2 separate regions of the Homo sapiens genome follow, and region 2 is linked to region 1. The links are contacts of gene promoters, found by promoter capture Hi-C in human tissues and cell types (Jung and others, 2019). All regions are on one chromosome and are shown on one strand. The core of a region is centred on a gene start or on the middle of the fragment in contact, and the rest is flanking DNA. Distances in the headings are between cores, read along the strand shown.

Region 1 (7,408 bases), core at 4,622-7,121:
ACAGAGCCAGGAGCTCAAGGGGCTTCCTGTGAGATGGTGAACTCCTGTCCCAAGTATGCCAACCAGTGGTGGGGACAACTGAACCATGTGGGACTTGAGGCTACTGTGGTGGGGACAGCTGAACCACGTGGGGCTGGGTAGTTGTCTCCAGGGTGGAGGGAGGGGGGATGAACTGGATACCTGACTGTCTGCATCTCCAGGAGGTGAGATGGCAGCTGGGCAAAATGGGCACGAAGAGTGGGTGGGCAGCGCATACCTGTTTGTGGAGTCCTCGCTGGACAAGGTGGTCCTGTCGGATGCCTACGCGCACCCCCAGCAGAAGGTGGCAGTGTACAGGGCTCTGCAGGCTGCCTTGGCAGGTGCGTGGATGGGCGGGCATGTGGAGAGGAAGGGGTGGCCTGGAGCATTTTGTGGGTGGGCCTGGGTTTAGCCACCTTTAAGAAGAAGATTTGGGGTGGGAGGAGCAAGACGGAGGACCCCTGGCTGTGCAGACTCTCTTCTTTGCTTGTGGCATGACCTTGAGGATAGGCGTGTGTTCTCGAGTCTGTGTATGATTTACCAATTTGTGCACTAACGTCCTTTGCTCCATCCCCGCCCCCCTCCACCAGCCGGCTCACTCCTTTCTACTAATTGTGGATGTCTCTCTCCTCTTTTCCTCTCTTACTGCAGCACTCCTTGCTCAAGACCCCTCCCCAGTACCTACCCTTCCAGGCCCCCCTTTCCCATCTCAGGGCAGAGGCCACAGGAGGCTGAAGCGGGTTGGGGGATCTGTTCGTGGCCTCAGAGCGGCGAGAGCCCCTCTTCTTCCCGAGCAGTGGGAGTCGCGCTTGGTGGAGGCCGAAGACCTGAGACCTCTCGCCCTCCTCTGCCCTGCTGGCCGCCTACCCAGACGGCTTGTTTGCCCAGGGCACACGCCCCCTTTTCTGTGCTTCGAAGTCCCTCTCTTTTGCCAACCCTCATTTGGGGCGTGAGAGCGGGGGTTAGGTGGCACCCACTCTGTCTTAGGGTGCTCCCTGTGACAGATCCTGGTCTTCTTTCTGGGTTATTGCTGTTTGTATCCCAATTTTGCTTCCCAGCTGGGTACTCTGGGGTAACTGCACCCTAGGTCAGGGGATGGGACGCGGGGCTTCACCACGGGCTTCGCCCCTCCTCCGGCCGTTTGGAGAACGGCCGAGCTTGGGGACCGCCCGGCGCCTGACCGCCCGCCTCCGCAGAGAGCGGCGGGAGCCCGGACGTGCTGCAGATGCTGAAGATCCACCGCAGCGACCCGCAGCTGATCGTGCAGCTGCGATTCTGCGGGCGGCAGCCCTGTGGCCGCTTCCTCCGCGCCTACCGCGAGGGGGCGCTGCGCGCCGCGCTGCAGAGGAGCCTGGCGGCCGCGCTCGCCCAGCACTCGGTGCCGCTGCAACTGGAGCTGCGCGCCGGCGCCGAGCGGCTGGACGCTTTGCTGGCGGACGAGGAGCGCTGTTTGAGTTGCATCCTAGCCCAGCAGGTGCGGCCGGGCTAGGGTCAGGATGGGGTAGGGCGGGGATCCGCGGTTAAGTCCCCCGTGACGGCACGTTCCATTCCCCTAGCCCGACCGGCTCCGGGATGAAGAACTGGCTGAGCTGGAGGATGCGCTGCGAAATCTGAAGTGCGGCTCGGGGGCCCGGGGTGGCGACGGGGAGGTCGCTTCGGCCCCCTTGCAGCCCCCGGTGCCCTCTCTGTCGGAGGTGAAGCCGCCGCCGCCGCCGCCACCTGCCCAGACTTTTCTGTTCCAGGGTCAGCCTGTAGGTGAGGCGCAGGTGGAGAGGCGGGGTCACCAGGAGGTTGGAGTCTGGGGAGGGGCAGGGGTCGTTGCCGGGTGGGGATGGGTGGGACCGGCGCTGGGGGTCCCCGCCCTCACCCCGTTTCCCCACTCCCTCTGCAGTGAATCGGCCGCTGAGCCTGAAGGACCAACAGACGTTCGCGCGCTCTGTGGGTCTCAAATGGCGCAAGGTGGGGCGCTCACTGCAGCGAGGCTGCCGGGCGCTGCGGGACCCGGCGCTGGACTCGCTGGCCTACGAGTACGAGCGCGAGGGACTGTACGAGCAGGCCTTCCAGCTGCTGCGGCGCTTCGTGCAGGCCGAGGGCCGCCGCGCCACGCTGCAGCGCCTGGTGGAGGCACTCGAGGAGAACGAGCTCACCAGCCTGGCAGAGGACTTGCTGGGCCTGACCGATCCCAATGGCGGCCTGGCCTAGACCAGGGGTGCAGCCAGCTTTTGGAGAACCTGGATGGCCTTAGGGTTCCTTCTGCGGCTATTGCTGAACCCCTGTCCATCCACGGGACCCTGAAACTCCACTTGGCCTATCTGCTGGACCTGCTGGGGCAGAGTTGATTGCCTTCCCCAGGAGCCAGACCACTGGGGGTGCATCATTGGGGATTCTGCCTCAGGTACTTTGATAGAGTGTGGGGTGGGGGGGACCTGCTTTGGAGATCAGCCTCACCTTCTCCCATCCCAGAAGCGGGGCTTACAGCCAGCCCTTACAGTTTCACTCATGAAGCACCTTGATCTTTGGTGTCCTGGACTTCATCCTGGGTGCTGCAGATACTGCAGTGAAGTAAAACAGGAATCAATCTTGCCTGCCCCCAGCTCACACTCAGCGTGGGACCCCGAATGTTAAGCAATGATAATAAAGTATAACACGGATTTTGATGTGAGAAATACAAGTAGTAGTGGCTTACACCTGTAATCCCAACAATTTGGGAGACAGAGATAGGAGGATTGCTTGAGCTCAGGAGTTTGAGACCAGCCTGGGTAGTCCCAGCCACTTAGGAGGCTGAGGTGGGAGGATCCCTGGAGCATGGAAGGTTGAGGCTGCAGTGAGATGTCACTGAGCTACTGCACTCCAGCCTGGGTGACAGAGTGAGACCCTGTCTCAAAAAAAAAAAAAAAAAAAGAAAGAAAAAAAAAGAGAAGTTGTGGAGGATGGAGGAAGGGGCCTAACCTGGGCAGGGGACAGGGGGTAGGCTTCCTGGAGGAGATGAGTGTGAGTAGGCATAGGGGTGGGCTATCGAGAGAAGGGCAGTGTTCGGGGCACAGTCTCAGGCAAGGGCTTGAGGAAGGCTTGTGGGTTTTTCAATGAGGCCAGTAGGAAGCCTTTGAAGAGTTTCGGGAGTTAAGACTGGGAGGTGGTTGTTTTTTTTTTTTTTTTAATTTTAATTTTTTTTCAGATGGAGCTTCACTCTTATTTCCCAGGCTGTAGTGTAATGGCACGTTTTTGGCTCACTGCAACCTCCACCTCCTGGGTTCAAGCAATTCTCCTGTTTCAGCCTCCCAAGTAGCTGGGATTACAGGCGCCCACCACCATGCCCAGCTAATTTTGTATTTTTAGTAGAGATGGGGTTTCTCCATGTTGGTCAGGCTGGTCTCAAACTCCTGACCTCAGGTGATCCACCCACCTTGGTCTCCCAAAGTGCTGGGATTACAGGCATGTGCCACCGCACCTGGCCAAGACTGGGAGGTTGATGAGGATGGGGGTGGGGGAAATGGTGGCCCCAGGCTGGGGCAGTAGCAGCAGAGATGGAGGGAAGGGGATGACCACCAAAGAGCTGTGTGGGTGGAAGAGTAACAGGCCTGGTGACACTGGGTGAGGAATGGCTGAGAGAGGGCCCCAAGTTTCTGCCTTTGCCAGTTGGATGGTGGGTGGGACTGCTTGCTGGGATGGGGCCCTGGGGGGAAATGAAATGCTTGCTCTGTTTGGGACAAGTTGAGCATGATGTTCCTGCAGTGCATCCGGGGAGAGAGTATGAGGGTAGTTGGGTCTGTAGTTCTGAGTTCAGGATGAGGGTTCAATCTAAAGATTGATGAATAGACAGGTGGGGAGTGGGTGGGGTGGCCCCAGGGGATGTCCTGAAGGACACCAACCAGAATGGGAACAGCCAAAGAGGAAGGAGGAAAACCAGGAGATTTGGAAACCAGGGGATTACCCACCCACTATAATGGAGCGGGTAGTCAAGACCGAGGAGTGTCTGTTGGACTCAGTTAAAAGGAGCTTACCAGTCAGGGGTCTTTCTGAGTCATGGTGGAGGCAGCCCGAAGCTTTATCACAGGAGGGAATGGAAGGTGAGGCCGCGGAGAAAGCTGGAGCAGAGGACTCCTGATTACTTTGTGACCAAAAAGAGTAAGGCTCAGGGTGGAGATTTGGCTTTTTTTTTTTTTTTTTTTTTTGGAGAGAGTCTCACTCTGTTGCCAGGTTGGAGTGCAGTGGCACGATCTCGGCTCATTGCAGCCTTCGTCTCCCGGGTTCAAGTGATTTTCCTGCCTCAGCCTCCCAAGTACCTGGGATTACAGGCACGTGCCACCATACCTGGCTAATTTTTGTATTTTTAATAGAGACAGGGTTTCTCCATGTTGGCCAGGCTGGTCTCAAACTCCTGGCCTCAAGTGATCCACCTGCCTTGGCCTCCCAAAGTGTTGGGATTACAGGAGTAAGCCACCACGACTGGCCTTTTTTTTTTTTTGAGACAGTCTCGCTCTGTTGCCCAGGATGGAGTGCAGTGGTGTGTTCTTGGCTCACTGCAACCTCCACCTTCCAGGTTCAAGCAATTCTCCTGCCTCAGCCCTCTAAGTAGCTGGGATTACAGGTGCCCACCACCATGTCTAGCTAATTTTTGTATTTTTAGTAGAGATGGGGGTTTCACCACGTTGGCCAGGCTGGTCTTGACTTCCTGACCTCAAGTGATCCACTCACCTCAGCCTCCCAAAGTGTTGAGGTTACAGGCATAAGCCACCACACCCAGCCAGAGAGGTGGCTTTTTAAGATTGAACATTGGTGGGAAGAAGCCGTCAGGAGCAGATATAGCCCTTGGACAGAGGATGGGGCTGGGTTCTTAAGAGACCAGTAGAGGCTGTCTATTCCAGGCTCCACCACATGGGCTGGGACCAAGAAAGAGAGAGCTGGCAGCTGAGCTGCGCAAGGACTTAGCTCTCCATTGCAGAGCACCTCTGTCCACCTGCATCCCAGAGCAATCCTTTAGCCAAGGCCTCCGCCAGGAGTCTTCCCAAGCTGTCCCCATCCTTGCCAGCCCTGTCTGACCTGCAGCTGCACAGGCCTGATCATTTCTACCTGCAGTAGGCTATGCTGGGGACCAGGGGACTCAGAACTGCACCTGGCTTGGGCTCAGGTCCATTAGCCCCCGGGGAGACAGGCTGAAGTGCTTGCCTGTGAAATTAAAGCAGACTGGGTTGGCCCCCTGTTCTGTATCCCAGTGGATGAATGAGCGGGGCAAGGACAGATAAAATAATCCTGGCCTGAATTTCAGAAGACCTGGGGGCAGAGCTTTCTGGCCTTTGGATCCTGGGCAAGTCACTTAACTCCCCGAAGAGCCCCCCAGTGTCCCCATCTGGGCATGAATGAGAGCTGCTGGCAGAGTTGCCCTGAGGATTGGGTGGGCTGCCTTGTTTGTCCCGTGCGTGTGTTTACTGGGGGTGGGGAGCATGGCAGAACCAGGAGTAAGAAGACAGCCATGTGTCTCGGGGGCAGCGTATGCACCCTGCCTGATGGAATCAGGGCTGCTGAGGAGAGGCCCGCCCGGGATGGTGGCCAGGTTCATGCGCATTTGGAACCGGCCTGCTCAGGGGCTCCTAGCAGCCCAGGCTCCGCCCCACTCCAGAGACGCGGGAGTGGGGAGTGGATAGTTGGGGGAGCTAACCAGGGGAGTTGATGCTTCTTCCCAATCCCCAGAAAGGCGAATTTGGGGTGTGAGCACCCAGACCAGCCCTTCCCAGAGGGACTGAGAGTGAGGAGGCTCCCTCTCAGGGATTAGTCCCCACTCTGAGGCCGGAGTGCTCCTGGCGCCGGGGCGGAGCTGAGCTCCAGAAGTCTGGGCGCGCACAGCTGGAGGGTCACGTGGCACGGCACCGGTCCCCCTTCCTGCCAACGCTGCATTTGGCTCGGGCCCGGTCCATGGCGGCCCCTCGGACCCTGCGCTGAGCCCCGGAGGCCAGGGCGTCCGGGGCTGCGCCACTTCCGAGGGCCGAGCGTGAGTGTCGGGACCCCAGGGCCCGACATTGAGGGGATGGCAGGGTGGAAGGGATTCGGCCTCAGCGCGAGGGAGGCGGGCGGGGGAGGGGCCGAGGCTCCCAGTCTCCCTGCCCGGCCCTGGGTCGCAGTCCTGGGCCGGAGCTGAGGCCGCGGGGGAGTTGGCTACATGGGTGAACTTCTTGTCCCTTCAGGCTGCCGGTCCCGGCGGTGCGACACGGCCGGGAGGAGGAGAACAACGCAAGGGGCTCAACCGTCGGTCGCTGGAGCCCCCCCCGGGGCGTGGCCTCCCGCCCCCTCAGCTGGGGAGGGCGGGGCTCGCTGCCCCCTGCTGCCGACTGCGACCCTTACAGGGGAGGGAGGGCGCAGGCCGCGCGGAGATGAGGAGGAGGCTGCGCCTACGCAGGGACGCATTGCTCACGCTGCTCCTTGGCGCCTCCCTGGGCCTCTTACTCTATGCGCAGCGCGACGGCGCGGCCCCGACGGCGAGCGCGCCGCGAGGGCGAGGGAGGGCGGCACCGAGGCCCACCCCCGGACCCCGCGCGTTCCAGTTACCCGACGCGGGTGCAGCCCCGCCGGCCTACGAAGGGGACACACCGGCGCCGCCCACGCCTACGGGACCCTTTGACTTCGCCCGCTATTTGCGCGCCAAGGACCAGCGGCGGTTTCCACTGCTCATTAACCAGCCGCACAAGTGCCGCGGCGACGGCGCACCCGGTGGCCGCCCGGACCTGCTTATTGCTGTCAAGTCGGTGGCAGAGGACTTCGAGCGGCGCCAAGCCGTGCGCCAGACGTGGGGCGCGGAGGGTCGCGTGCAGGGGGCGCTGGTGCGCCGCGTGTTCTTGCTGGGCGTGCCCAGGGGCGCAGGCTCGGGCGGGGCCGACGAAGTTGGGGAGGGCGCGCGAACCCACTGGCGCGCCCTGCTGCGGGCCGAGAGCCTTGCGTATGCGGACATCCTGCTCTGGGCCTTCGACGACACCTTTTTTAACCTAACGCTCAAGGAGATCCACTTTCTAGCCTGGGCCTCAGCTTTCTGCCCCGACGTGCGCTTCGTTTTTAAGGGCGACGCAGATGTGTTCGTGAACGTGGGAAATCTCCTGGAGTTCCTGGCGCCGCGGGACCCGGCGCAAGACCTGCTTGCTGGTGACGTAATTGTGCATGCGCGGCCCATCCGCACGCGGGCTAGCAAGTACTACATCCCCGAGGCCGTGTACGGCCTGCCCGCCTATCCGGCCTACGCGGGCGGCGGTGGCTTTGTGCTTTCCGGGGCCACGCTGCACCGCCTGGCTGGCGCCTGTGCGCAGGTCGAGCTCTTCCCCATCGACGACGTCTTTCTGGGCATGTGTCTGCAGCGCCTGCGGCTCACGCCCGAGCCTCACCCTGCCTTCCGCACCTTTGGCATCCC
Region 2 (7,276 bases), core at 3,823-6,322, 120 kb after region 1:
AAACTTAATTTCTGGTAGAGTTAACAACCCATTTACTAGTTATTAAATACCGGAAGACTTCAGTAACACTGAGATGTTGCCCTTGAAGTCTTAAAATAGTTTTGGGCTAAAGCTGACAAAAAACAAATTTTTTTTTTTTTTGGTTTACGTCTTTAGTATCTGAGCTACCATGTTAAACAAACTTTAAGGAAGTATTCAAACAAGAAAAAAAATAATTTCTTCATTTAGTCACACATACACGCACCAGAAGCACAAAAAAACCAATAATCGTACAAGGACTTCTCAAATTCTTCCTTATATATTGTGTAAGAATTACCAAATAGTAAAATCTGGAACATTCACTTTTAATTTTCCAAGCAAACAAGCTAATACACAGGAAAGCAAACTGCTTGCTTAGTACTCATTTTTTTAAATCTTATAATCTGTTTTCCCTTTTCTAATCCAAAGATTGTTTTGTCACGCACAAAAGATCAAATCTAATTCTACAGAATTGGAGAAAACAAAAAATTCATTTTATATATACATATATATGTATATACATACACACATATACGTATATACACACACATATATACATATATACACACACATATACGTATATATACACATATATACGTGTATATATATATATACACACAAGATTAAATTAAATATTTCTCAAAGGAATATTTAGACATTTCTCACATTTTACATAAATGTGGCAGGTTATGCTATTCATGATGACACTTAGAAAATTAATTTAGTAAGTTGATAGAAACGGGTACAAAAACACACTGCAAAACAAACACACACAAAAAAAGTATGAAACTGGATCCAAAAGGGTGTTTTGAGTATAAAACTATATTTAAAAGAGGGTTTCTTCTTTAAAAATTTTATTCTAGAAGTCAACTCCTTGACTTCTCAATCAAGAATCAACCAATCCAAGATGCTATTCATTAAAATTTACCAGGCCAGGTGCAGTAGCTCACTCCTATAATCCCACCACTTTGGGAGGCAGAGGCAGGTGGATCACATGGTCAGGAGTTCAAGACCAGCCTGACCAATATGGGGAAACCCTGTCTCTACTAAAAATACAAAAAAATTAGCCAGGCGTGGTGGCGCACACCTGTAATCCCAGCTACTCAGGAGGCTGAGGCAGGAGAATAGCTTAAAACCCAGGAGGTGGAGGTTGCTGTGAGCCAAGATCACACCACTGCACTCCAGCCTGGGCAACAGAGGGAGACTCCATCTCAAAAAAAAAAAAAAAAAAATTACCAAAATCATAATACATTTAACGTAGACCTGAAATAAGGCTCTCAGCTTAAACATTTTACCTATATTTTTGTATCTTTAACCTAAACTTCTAACATCGAAACTGTAAGACATGTTCCCAGAAACTTTTTCTCAAAACAAAAAAAAAGTATTTCCAAGTTAAAGTTTTCACATTGTTTTTCTCAAATGTAAATTTGCTGTTAATGGAATTAGAAAGTTACCTATGAGCTATTTCTAAATACTATTAATTTTTAAACCTAGAGAGCTTTTTTCCGTTTTCCTCTTGTTTTATTTTTATAGCACTATACTTACATATATTTTTGTAAACAAAATATATCTCCTCAAACTTTTAAAGAAATTGTTATGTTACTTTCCTTAAGGGTTAGAATGTTCTATGACAAATATTATGTACATGAAATTAGGAATGGAGTGATACAAAAGTTTAACAGTGGTTTTAAAAAATTATATTGGCCGGGCACAGTGGCTCACGCCTGTAATCCCAACACTTTGGGAGGCAGAGGTGGGCGGATCACAAGGTCAGGAGTTCGAGACCAGCCTGGCCAACATGGTGAAACCCCATCTCCACTAAAAATACAAAAATTAGTCAGATGTGGTGGCGGGTACCTGTAATCCCAGCTACTCAGGAGGCTGAGGCAGGAGAATCGCTTGAAACTGGAAGGCGGAGATTGCAGTGAACCAACATCACGCCACTGCACTCCAGCCTGGGCAACAAGAGCGAAACGCCATTAAAAAAAAAAAATTATATTACATCCTTATAACATGGAATGAAAACAAATCTGAGCATATGCTGGTATAATCAGATCTGTGATCTTTATTAAAATGTAAATTACCAGATAATCTCTAACAAAACAACCCACAGTATTTTAAATTGCAAAGAAATGTTTCCTACCTTGCCTGCTTCTCTTTCTAAGTCGACATACTCTCGGCTAGGTGTTTGTCGCTGTTCTCCCTGCCAGCTGGCCGGAAAAAACTGGAGAGACAGATTGGTTCCTGTGGCCACAAAAGCCTTTTAGAAAAATCAATACAAACAGGATCAGGAGCAGGACATTACATAAATTATGCAAGCAGTCATTTATTTTTACATCAGTTTATGTCTTAAGCCAGGCAGCACAGAGAATACTTAAAAGTAAAAAAAAACATGCACTCATCATTTTTCTTAAGTATTAAGTTACAAACATCTGATTCCATTTTGAGGACATTTGCCATTGGCTGCTTAAGTATAAAATCAGACATGGAATCAATACTTTCTTTCAGGTCATTTTTTGCTGACGTTAGGATCTCACACTGCTAATGTCTAACCAGAAGCCACTATCCATCTCTGCATTTAAAAACTTCTATTTTTAAATGTAAAAATCACTCAAAATCTAAAGATTTTGAATTTTAAAGAATACCACAATTTAAAATTGTATAAATGAGACACTTTAATTTTCCTTGATTTCCCTTGCTGAAACACTGCATAGCAGGCAGTACATAAAAAATGCACTTGGAATTGTCTCTCCTCTGATAAACCATACATTGGCATGGGATGTGACAGTACTCTCTAAAACCCTAGATGATTTTTAAAAATATGTCTTTTCTCACATTTGACTTTAGGAGAACTTGGTCTGACTACAACAAAGAGAAAAGTATTCATCTAATAAATATTTATAGATTAGATTTATAAATATAAAAGATTTGGATGTTAGAGCTCAACAGATGCAACAATCTAAAACCACTTCAATAAAGTGTCATTTTATGTAGGCCTTGAGCAAGTTACCTCTATATTTCCCTCAGGCAAAAAACAAAGACATTACCCCTTTCCCAAAGGAAATTAAGAAAAAAAGAAGTAAAAGCATTTTTGAAAAAATACATTTTTCATCATCTAAATGTAAACTCTTCTTTGCTGAAACCAGAAAAAGTTTTTTGTTTGGTTTATTCTACTAATTAAGTTCTGAAGCATAATTGGTTTCCATGCATAGAGTCTTCATCTCAAATCAAGAGGTTCACATTTGGGGCAATTTGTTTAAAGCCATCAACCAAGTTAGCTATCCAATAGTTCCCCTGATGGTTAACAGCTTAGATTCTTTAGAGGTAAAAATTATACTTCCTATTTCTATTACTGGCACTGTCGGTACACTTGTCAACCTAAATGCTAAATCTCTAAACCTCTCTGATGGCATTTCCCTAATCAACTGGGGTACCATTTTCATGTGGTAAATGTTTTATATCCATAGAAACTGAACTAACATCAATATTACAACATCATTTTAAAAAATCTTTCAGGCCAGGAGCAGTGGTTCACACTCGTAATCCCAGCCCTTTGGGAGGCAAGGCAGGTAGACCATCTGAGGTCAGGAGTACAAGACCAGCCTGGCCAACATGGTGAAACCCTGTCTCTACTAAAAATACAAAAAATTAGCTGGGCATGGTGGCAGACGCCTGTAATCCCAGCTACTTGGGAGGATGAGGCAGGAGAATCACTTGAACCTGGGAGGCAGAGGTTGCATGCAGTCAGCCGAGATTGCACCACTGTGCTCCAGCCTGGACAACAAGGCGAGACTCCATCACAAAAACAAAAAACAAAAAAAACTTCCCATGTACTACGAGCATAAATCTTAACAAAAAACCCCCCAACACTAGTTAAAAAAAAAAAAAGTTTCTGGGAGGGAAACTGCCCAGGCTGTACGACCTGAAGCATAATTCAGTTTTCTCACAAATCAATTATTTGTAAAGTGCTTAAAACAGTACCAAGTAAATGCTATGAAAGTGTCTGCTGAATAATATGATAAATAACTTTAAGCTCAACAAGAAAGCCAACTTTTTCAGCTTCAGATAATGAAATTCTCAGAGCAGAGTGGTGGCAGAAAAGACACAGCCCATGAACGACTGCCCCGTGTCAAAATCCCTGTGGCTTGTTTCTTCAGTATTCACGTAGTAGCAAATCCTTCCACCTCCAGTGTACCCCAAATCAGTTCTGTGCTAAGACACTCTGCAGATCGTATTACCTCATCTCCTGTCTTGATGCCAACCTCAGAAGAGATTTCCTGCTTCATCACTATATGTCCATTATCTCATAAAGATCCCTCTCTGAGACAGAAGTGGTAAACACAGATCATTCTAGAATAACATTTTCCAAACTTATGTGACCATGGAATTCTTTTAATGAAATACCTACATATAGGTAAGAGTTGGAAAAAGTCTGTTCCAAAATATTAATATGGTGTCAACATCGTCATAGGAAAATAAAGACGAAAATAAACAAAATGAAAACATTAAAATGCTACACTAGTATGACGCCTATATTTAAGATTTCCAGGTTGTCTTATGCTTTGTAGGTTTCACAAATTATAAAATAGCACACCTTGTGCCAATCCAACATACTTTTTACCATTCAATCTTTAGAATTAGAAATATGTATTAGTTTTTACTCTTCTCACCACAGAGTAACCATACTTCTTATAAATATTTTTTCTTTATTTGATTATTAGTGTTGAAGACGTCTCCAACATTCTTAACTACATAAGAATTGGTAAGAATAGGCCGGGTGCAGTGGCTCAAGCCTGTAATCCCAGCACTTTGGGAGGCCAACACAGGCAGATCACGAAGTCAGAAGTTTAACACCAGTCTGGCCAATATAGTGAAACCCCACCTCTACTAAAAATACAAAAAATTAGCCGGGTGTGGTGGTGTGCGCCTGTAATCCTAGCTACTCGGGAGGCTGAGGCAGGAGAATCGTGTGAACCCAGGAGGCAGAGGTTGCAGTGAGCCGAGAGCCAAGATCGTGCCATTGCACTCCAGCCTAGCCGACAGTGCAAGACGCCGTCTCAAAAAAAAAAAAAAAAAAAACAACGGTGAAACTCTGTCTCTACTAAAAATACAAAAACAAATTAGCCGGGTGTGGTGGCAGGCGACTGTAGTCCCAGTTACTCGGGAGGCTGAAGCGGGAGAATGGCGTGAACCCAGGAGGCGGAGCTTGCAGTGAGCCGAGATCGTGCCACTGCACTCCAGCCTGGGCGACAGAGCAAGACTCCGTCTCAAAAAAAAAAAAAAAAGAATTGATAAGAATAAATCAAGGCTGGGTGCAGTGGCTCACTGAGGCAGGCACATCACTTGAGGCCAGCAGTTGGAGACCAGCCTGGCCAACATGGTGAAACCCATCTCTACTAAAAATACAAAAACCAGCCAGGCGTGGTGGCAGGCGCCTGTAATCCCAGCAAGTCAGGAGGCTGAAGCAGGAGGTGGAGGTTGCAGTGAACGGAGATGGCACCACTGCACTCCAGCCAGAGTGACAGAGTAAGATCCAGTCTCAAAAAAGAATAAATCAGATTCTACTACAGATTCTTCGACCTGTGTTCACTTTTATTTAATGCTGATTGGGTTTTACAGTTAAAAACTCAATTGGCATAAAATAAGGAGGCTGATTGAGTTTTATAGTTAAAGAGAGATGATCAACACAGCCCTTAAATTATTTCACATCTAAATGCAAAATGAGGCTGGGAGTGGTGGCTCACGCCTGTAATCCCAGCACTTTGGGAGGCCGAGGTCGGTGGATCACCTGAGGTCAGGAGTTTGAGACCAGCCTGGCAAACATGGTGAAACTCCGTCTCTACTAAAAATACAAAAATTAGCTGGGCATGGTGGTATACGCCTGTAATTCCAGCTACTCAGGAGGCTGGGTCAAGACAATCACTTGAACATGGGGGACGGAGGTTGCACTGAGCCAAGATCATGCCACTGCACTCCAGCCTGGGCAACAGCAAAATGAATTCTTCATTAACCTCACTGATACATCAAGAAGATGTTCCAAATAAGAAGAGGACAACTGGGGCAGGAGAAAGGTTGGGAATAGTTTTGAGAACTATGGATATCCTTGCCATTTATGGCTGCTGTCAAAACAGGCAAAATAATGCCTTTTTCCACAGCCAAATAGGAAGAAACCCAGCCTGTTCATAAGTCATGAGATAAATTTCAGGCATTAAATTAAGCAGCCTCTAAATTCAAATAATCAAGTACCTCTGATATAAAAGGTATTGTGAAAAATAGCTGTATCCAGAGGGGTTTATACAAAATTAATGAGGTCTCTACCCTCTAGGAGCTAAGGATCCTGTAATTAAATGTGGGTTAACACTGAATTAAAGGAGGGAAACTAGAAAGAGAGAAAACTAGGAAACGTGAAATTCCTCTCCAAATACCAATAGTTACATTATTTAACAAAATAAGACATGAGCCGTCTTAAGTGCAAACCTCACACAGCATTCAATCTACCTTCTTTAACCTTTAATACTTCTCAGAAATTTAAAACTTGTAAAATGTGTCGAATCAGATACTTGTTTTATTTTTGGAGACCGGGTCTCACTCTGTCACCCAGGCTGGAGTGCAGTGGTACGATCATGGCTAACTGCAGCCTCGACCTCCCGGGCTCAGGTGAGGATCAGATTATTTGGAAGCGGGGAAGGTCTAGAATGTCTAATTCATCCTGGAAATAAATTCATGACAAACACTAACCACCTGTACTACTACTATAATATTACAGCATTTCAGATATCCTATGGGTTGAATTCATAATTCCATTCAGCAAAGTCTGAGATGACAGAAAACACCCTACTAGCTATGATTCACCAAATTTCCAAAAAAATTCAGCTTTCAAAGATAGTGATGATAATACAACACATGGGGCTGCGTATGGTGACGCCGAGCCTGTAGTCCCAGCTATTGGGAGGCTGAGGCAAGAGGATCGCTTGAGCCCAGAAGTTTGAGGCTGTAGTGCCTCATGATTGTGCCTGTGAACAGCCACTGCACCCCAGCCTAGGCCACACAGCAAGACCTCTCTCTTAAAAAAAAAAAACGAAACAAGACCAGACGCGGTGGCTCACACCTGTAATCCCAGCACTTTGGAAGGCCGAGGTGGGAGGATTACTTAAGGTCAGGAGTTCAAAACAAGCCTGGCCAAGATGGTGAAACCCCGTCTCTACTAAAAATACAAAAAAATTAGCCGGGCGTGGTGGTGTGTGCCTGTAATCCCAGC

The links. The method cuts DNA at HindIII sites, captures the fragments that hold promoters and counts their contacts. A contact is called where the count stands out against the background at its distance.
Region 2: a fragment that was not itself captured here is called in contact with the fragment with the promoter of B3GNT9 in region 1 in 4 of the 25 tissues and cell types used here (aorta, hippocampus, mesenchymal stem cells and 1 more).

What each region holds. Positions count from the first base shown.
Region 1 is chr16:67,149,461-67,156,868 of GRCh38, reverse strand. It overlaps B3GNT9 (UDP-GlcNAc:betaGal beta-1,3-N-acetylglucosaminyltransferase 9), which reads left to right and starts at 5,871. Exons shown (of 2, transcript NM_033309.3): 1 at 5,871-6,004; 2 at 6,198-7,408. The coding sequence starts at 6,384. It overlaps TRADD (TNFRSF1A associated via death domain), which reads left to right. Exons shown (of 5, transcript NM_003789.4): 2 at 201-359; 3 at 1,215-1,492; 4 at 1,575-1,773; 5 at 1,910-2,684. The coding sequence starts at 209. The coding sequence ends at 2,220. RefSeq lists silencers at 1,120-1,189, 1,230-1,419, 5,916-6,075, 6,086-6,515 and an enhancer at 352-1,253. The HindIII fragment of the contact is 9,280 bases long and covers 1-5,893 here.
Region 2 is chr16:67,031,641-67,038,916 of GRCh38, reverse strand. CBFB (core-binding factor subunit beta) reads right to left here. Exons shown (of 6, transcript NM_022845.3): 3 at 2,162-2,278. Among named protein-coding and RNA genes, the nearest start is that of CBFB, 6.1 kb to the right of the region's middle. The HindIII fragment of the contact is 6,179 bases long and covers 1,983-7,276 here.